2 separate regions of the Homo sapiens genome follow, and region 2 is linked to region 1. Evidence: promoter capture Hi-C in human tissues and cell types (Jung and others, 2019). All regions are on one chromosome and are shown on one strand. Each heading gives the region's core, a stretch centred on a gene start or on the middle of the fragment in contact. The rest is flanking DNA. Distances are from core to core; before and after follow the strand shown.

Evidence for each region. Contacts are between HindIII fragments. The study calls those that stand out against the background at their distance.
Region 2: a fragment that was not itself captured here is called in contact with the fragment with the promoter of AHCYL2 in region 1 in 1 of the 25 tissues and cell types used here (hippocampus).

Annotation. Positions count from the first base shown.
Region 1 is chr7:129,223,750-129,227,273 of GRCh38, forward strand. AHCYL2 (adenosylhomocysteinase like 2) reads left to right here and starts at 1,281. Exons shown (of 17, transcript NM_015328.4): 1 at 1,281-1,690. The coding sequence starts at 1,328. RefSeq lists an enhancer at 785-894 and silencers at 1,175-1,244, 1,365-1,614. The HindIII fragment of the contact is 19,696 bases long and covers 1-3,524 here.
Region 2 is chr7:130,934,143-130,937,812 of GRCh38, forward strand. All of the region lies in intron 6 of LINC-PINT (long intergenic non-protein coding RNA, p53 induced transcript), which reads right to left. Among named protein-coding and RNA genes, the nearest start is that of LINC00513, 23 kb to the left of the region's middle. The HindIII fragment of the contact is 9,181 bases long and covers 1-3,670 here.

The DNA.
Region 1 (3,524 bases), core at 31-2,530:
GCAGCCTCTGCCTCCCAGGTTCAAGCGATCCTCCTGCCTCAGCCTCCCAAGTAGCTGGGATTTCAGGTGCCCGCCACCACGCCTGGCTAATTTTTGTATTTTTAGTAGAGATGGGGTTTCACCATGTTGGCCAGGCTGGTCTTGAAGTCCTGATCTCAAGTGATCTGCCGGCCTTGGCCTCCCAAAGTGCTGGGATTACAGACGTCAACCACTATGCCCAGCTGGCAAACGATTTTCAAAGGCTGTAACAATTGCTCTATTTGTTGGACATTAGTTTTAGACAGTTTTTTGTTATTAAAAAGGACGCTGCGGTGCATGTCTTTTTGCTTACATCCTCTAAATGTAAAATTTAAAAATAATACAGAAAAGTACAAAGTAAAAATCACCTTAAATCCCATCACTTAGGAAATTAACTACTCATATTCACTATTCATATCCCTCTATGCTGATATATGTATCTGAATTTCAGATGATTGCCCTATTAGAATTATAGGTGAAAAGATTTGGCCTCGTTTAAGGCAACGTGTAATTCCTCAGCCTTGAATTTTGATCTAGTGATACCTAACTTCTTTGAGGAATGATCTTAGCTTCCAAACCCAGAATGTGACAGAAAGCGCCACAGCAAGCAAGGTCCTACTTTATCCCTTCTAAAAACAAAGCCACTGAAGTTTGGAAGGGTGTTGAGTTCTCAATATCACAAAGAAAAATAAAGCCACTTCCAGCCTGGAGCCGCCGCTTCTCCTTTAAATACTCGCTCACGTGATCGCAGACGGGCACGCGCGGAGGAACTTCACGCTGTCAGGACAACGAGCCATTCCTCTACCACTTCCCCTCCCCTAAGGCTTCTTGGCGTTCCCTCCCCGGAAGTCACAACTCCTCTGGAGACTTTCTCTTCCTCATCCCCTCCGTCGAGTCACCTATCCTCACTCCTTTCTGTTAGCTGCCGGCCCTAGCGCTCCCTCTCCTCGGCTGAATCTCACTTAGTGGAGGAAAGGCTGAAAGGACTACAACTCCCAGGGGACGCTGCGGGCCCCGCCCATGGGGCGCGCAGTGTAGGTCGGGGCCTGAGGTCCCACGGTCTTCTCGCCGCGTGCGGCCGGGAGCAAACGCACTACAGGTTCCGTGGCGCCTCGCGCGAGGCCAGACCGGGACGGGGCGGGGCGGGGCTGGAGGGGCCGGGACTGGCGGGCGGAGAAAGGGGGTGGGAGAGGAGGCGATGGAGGGGAGGAGTGGGGACATGGGGGAGGGAAGAGGAAGGGAGGTGGGAGGCGGGGCCGACCAAGAGCAGGAGCTGGAGTCTGAGCCGGTGGTTGCAGCGGAGGCGGTGATGTCGGTGCAGGTTGTGTCAGCCGCGGCTGCCGCCAAGGTGCCTGAGGTGGAGCTGAAGGACCTGAGCCCCTCCGAGGCGGAGTCGCAACTAGGACTGAGCACGGCCGCCGTGGGCGCCATGGCCCCCCCGGCGGGCGGTGGAGACCCTGAGGCTCCAGCTCCCGCCGCGGAGCGGCCCCCGGTCCCCGGCCCGGGCTCGGGGCCCGCCGCCGCTCTCAGCCCCGCCGCCGGGAAGGTGCCTCAGGCGTCGGCCATGAAGCGGAGCGACCCACATCACCAGCACCAGCGGCACCGCGACGGCGGCGAGGCCCTGGTCAGCCCCGACGGCACCGTCACCGAGGCGCCGCGCACAGTCAAGAAGGTACTGGGGCCGGGCTGCCTCTCTAGGAGAGGAAGGGAGGGGAGGGGAACTGCAGATCCTCTCGGCACGGCGGCACCACCCTCCACGCCCTCCTTTCTGATCGCAGGACCGGAGATACCCCTTGTCCCCTTAAACCCACTCTCTCAGAGATGCCCCCCAGCCGGCCCCTCGTGCTGGGAGCGGAGACTCCAGGAGGCACGGCCGTACTTCGCTCTGAATAACATGGAGGTAGCGCTCTCCCCTACTACTTGGAATAGGCAGCGGGAGGAGAGACACCTAATAGTACGTCCCGCGGCCCCAACACGCTCCCGGGTGTGATTTTCCAGCCTATCGGGGAAGAGACCTCGATAGTATAGAAAAACCTTACCGCTCACGGGAGTTCACACAGCAATAAGGATGAAAAGATCTTTAATACTTGGAGAACGAGTAAGGTGTAGTCACCTTGCATAGAAATCGTCAGAGTTGTCTGGTTTCCATACAGTTGATGACTTTCTGCCTTTCTGTGGCCAACCGTGGCCATACAGCAACACGATGCTGTGCCCTTCATTTCCAGCGACTGCGATATTCTCTCTTCCCTGAATATGTAAAAGGGTAATGGAGAGATTCTCCTCACTCTTTCGTGTTAAGAGCTTTGTCCTCCCTGCTGGGTATAGTTGGTCACCAGGATTATTAGGCTGTGTATGAAGAGAATGAATGTCTTATTGATTGCTTTATTATAATCTGAAAGTGATAGGAAGAAATGCTGCTACTTTTGGGAAAGACGATCTTTGTGGGGTTTTCGGTCTTAGGCGTCAGCTTCTTTCAGACAGTTTTGAGGAGGTCTCAGAATACCAAGAAGTAACTGCCTAGGTGGATGATAGCCCTGTATTACCCGTACATTGTCTATCCATAGTTGTCTGTCTCTCTCAAAGCTTGTCTTTCTTTCTCTCTTAAAGCTGAATCAGCACAGAAAAACAGGGCAAGTATTGGAAAAGACAGAAGTGTGGATCATATAAAAAGGGCTTACAGCTTCAATTTCGTAGACACAGTATGGGCACAGGGATTAATGTTTTTTTTAAATTGTTGTGAATGGTTTTTAATTGCTTTATCAGAACAGCAACAAAGAGACGGGAAGTGTGCATTGGTTTTACTGTGTGGGACCAGCTGAATTGGAACCTTGGATCCACCATAACTTTTTGTTGTCATAGCGTCATGATTAAGGTATAGCGGATAATCCTTTCATCCTAACGATACAAATTTAGGTGATAAGTCAGAGGCAAGACTGAAGGAATTTCTGTAATGCTTTAGACAATGTCTTTGTCGTTTGTAGTATGAAACTCCTCTGGGAAGAATTAGAGTAGAAAGAGGCAGCATCCTGCAGAAATGGGTTTAAAGAAAAAAAGTAAAGTAAAAAAGAGAGGCAGCAGCAGCACCAGTGCTGGGAGTACCTAGATCTGAGTCTGGAAATCCAAAGCATACTTCTGACTTGTTGAGATACTTTGTATCGTTAAGTCATTTTCTTGTGATAAAGACTGTTTTTGTCTAAACTTTGTAATTTGGTTAGATTTCTTTAGGCTAAAAGTGTTTAACAAATTGCTTTTAGAGCATGAAGTTTACAGTCAGGCAGACCTGGATTTGAAGCCTAGTACCCCCATTACTACCTTTTGGGTAATTTCCAAATTACACAAATCAGTTTCCTCTTCTATAAAATGAAAGTACTAATTATGATTGAGGATTAGAAATATTTGTAAAAGGTTTAGCATTGAGCTTGGCACATAAAGTCTTAAATGATATTCTTACTAATGCTTTTATTATTATGAATAATTGATTTTATTTTATTCCTCCCATCATGGCT
Region 2 (3,670 bases), core at 836-3,335, 1.7 Mb after region 1:
ACTCATTGCTTAAAATCTGTAAAATGGGATAGTATTATTCCCTATCTCATTAGGTAGTTGTAAGGATTAAAATCACTAACACCTGTAGGGCAACTAAAACAGCACCTGACATACAGAGAACATTCCATAAACATTACCAATAATTACGCATGGCAAACTCAATAACTTTATTACCTTGCTAATAAAAACATGAGGGCCAAATAGCAAGAAAGCGACTGAACTACACCAGAGGTTTGAAACTTGAGTTTTCTCCTTGGCTCTCCCATCAACTGTCTGCATGACTGTGGGTACATCACTTCCCTTCTATATTTCACTATTCTCATCTATACAAAAAGCAATATACGCACACACCAAGAACACCTAGAGAAGCCTGATGCAGCTTTCTGCTAATACCAACTGGAGCCAAACAACTTAAATTTATTTATCTTCCTATCTGCATTAGTCAGGGTTCTCCAGAGAAACAGAACCAAGAGGGAGAGAGGGAGAGGAAGAGGAAGAGGGAGAGGGCGATTGAGAGGGAGATTGAGATTGAGAGAGAGAGAGACTGAGATTGAGATTGAGAGAGAGAGTGGTGGGGGTGGGGGTAGATACTGATATTTACCTTAAGGAACTGGCTCATGCAATTACAGGGACTGACAAATCCACAATCTTCAGGGCATGCTGGTGACCAAGGGAAGAGTTGATGTTGCAGTCTTTTTTTTTTTTTTTTTGAGACAGAGTCTCACTCTGTCGCCCAGGCTAGAGTGCAGTTACATGATCTCAGCTCACTGCAACCTCTGCCTCCTGGGTTCAAGTGATTCTCATGCCGCAGCCTCCCAAGTAGCTGGGACTACAGGCGCCTGCCACCATGCCCAACTAATTTTTGTGTTTTTAAATAGAGACAGGTTTTTGCCATGTTGGCCAGGCTGGTCTTGAACTCCTGATCTCAAGCGATCCACCCATCTCAGCCTCCCAAAGTGCTGGGATTACAGGCGTGAGCCACCGTGCCAGGCCGATGTTGCAGTCTTGAGTCTGAAGGGAGACTGGAGACAGAGTTCCTTCTTCTTTAGGGACTTCAATCTTTTTCTCTTAAGGCCTTCAACTGATGATATATGAGGCCTACATACATTACAAAGGATAATCTGCTTCACTCCTTCTACTGATATAAATGTTAAACCTCATCTAAAAAACTACCTGCACAGCGACATCTAGACTGGTGCTTGACCAAGTATCTGGGTACTGTGGCCTCGCCAAGCTGATACATACAATTAGCCATTACACCATCCTTTCAGAAGGGGTGATGCCCACACCGAAGGAAAAAACCTCTAGACTCCACAGCCATTTAATCTTCTATTGGAGACCATAATCGAGGCAAGGAATTCAGATGAGGCTACTCTTTTCTTCACAGGTGAATTCCAAGCGTCTCACAGCTTCCAGGGCATTTCTTGTTCTGGTTCCTGCTCACCTGTCTTATCTCCTTGCTCTTCCCTCCATTCCAGCCACACGTGGTTTTTGGTTTAAAGACACTGTGTTCTTATCTTGCTCTGCCTGAGTACGCGCTACTTCCACGGCCTGGGGTATGCTGTTTTCCCACTTTTTAACTGGGTCCTCATCATTTGAGTCTCATGTTGAGAACCACAACTGCCTCTAGAGAGCTTCCCTGACCTGACAAGGTTAGGCCAGTAAGTTCCCACAGCCAATCTGCACACCTCCTGCCTTACACTCAAGCCACGCCATCAGGGCTCCCTCCCAGCCTGGCAGCTCCGTGAAGGACACACCTCTCTTGTTGGTCACAGCATTCATGCTGCCAAGCTGGTCCACGAAGACACAACAAATAGCTGCTGAATAAATAAATGAGGATGCAGATGGTTCTTAAGCCTTGACCTTCAATCCTCCCAATGTCCTTGAGATTCGGCTCCATGTCTCCAACCACTTGCTGGACACCTGAAGGCGGGAATCTCACCAGCACCTACACTGAATATGCACAGAGTGGACAGAGCTTGTCTTTGCTCTCACGTACGCTGTCTTCCAAGCCTAGTACAGTAGAAAGAACACAGGCTTGGGGGTCAGGGAGGCCTGTACTGAAGTCCCTGTTCTAGATCCTGTTACAACTGTACAATTTTAGACCAATTGCTAATTTTCTCTGACCCTTAGTTTTCTCGTCTCTGATATAAGGATGAAAATACCAACCCACAAGATTAGGAGGAGATTAAATGAGATAATAGCTATGCAATGCCTGGCAGATGGCATAGAAATAATGAATGGCACCTGGGTTCAAAGCTCTGGGGGCATTTTTGCTTCCCATCGGCCAACCCCTATTATCTAGGCAGTTCCTAAATCCCATCTCATAAATTCAATTTCTCCATCTAGTGGCCTTCCCCTCACCCAGGCCCTCCCCACCTCCCTCCTGGACCACAACAGCAGCTCTAAAAGGCTTCCCAGCTCTGGCTATTTCACAGTCCAGAGGCACCCACATGCTGATCCCCGCAAGGCCTCTTCAGGATGGGGACTCTAGCCACTCAAATTCTTCCATTGCTCCCCAGTAACTTAAGTTTAAATCATTTAGTCACGTGCCATTCAAGGCCCTCTGGGTTCTGGCCTCCAAGGACCTTTGCTACCTGATCTTCTCCTTAGTGGTTTACACACATCATTGCCCAGCAACTACAAATCGATTCCTGCCCACTCTGCACCCCGGCATTTCCCATCCCTACCTATGCCTTTGCTCATGTTTCCTTCAACGAGGATACTCCAAGACCTCAAGTCCAACATTACCTTTCTTTCAATGTCTGGCTCAAAGGCTCTTTATCCATGAAGCATTTCTTGATCATCCCAGCCACAGATAAACACACAACCTTTCTTTTCTATGAACTTGTGGTATGTTTATCTCTCTACCTTTTATACATTTCTCTTTCTCTCTGCATTTATTCTTTGTTTTTCTTTTTTCTAAGACATCTTGTTATAGCATCTCTGCATTTATTCTAATTTTATCTGTGCACAGAACCTTAGCTTCAAGCTCCTTGAAGGGTAGCATCGTGTCCCAGCCTACACTGTCACACTCAGGAGAAGCACCCAGTAGATGGTGGCTCTGTATCTACCTACAGAGTGCCACTGAGGAGCACAGGCCTTCAGGTCTGTAGCCCATCAGCTGAGCCTTCGCATCAGCTCCTAGAACAGTGCCTGGCATAGAGCAACACCCAGAAATCATTGTTAAATGAAATTATCCACAAGGGAGTCACCTAGTGTCTACATGATAGAAATTCTTTCCCTGTAGAATATAACATGAAAGGGGGTGTGAAGAAGCCTTCTCTCTCCCCATACTTCCAGATGCAAGAAAGCTTCACGTTAACTGTCTCCCACAAGCTATATAGCTACTCTCGGCAATAAACATGACATATAATACTTTGGTGCATTTGGCGTGTCAAAAATATTCAATTTTAACATGTCAGAAAGAATCATTTTTCAAAAACAGTCTCCTTTGGAGAAGAGAGTTATTCAAACAATATCCAAAACCTTTTTGGATCTCACATTTTGAAGAGGTCCAACTTCCGTTGGTTAAAAAAAAAAGTCTATTATATAATGAAAGCCTTACAACTGACTGAGAATTATAGAATTTCAGAAATAAATCCCAGTCTGTTCATCCTTAAAATAAGAAGCTATTTTTCAGGGCTTTCATGTCCAAAATTATATTATG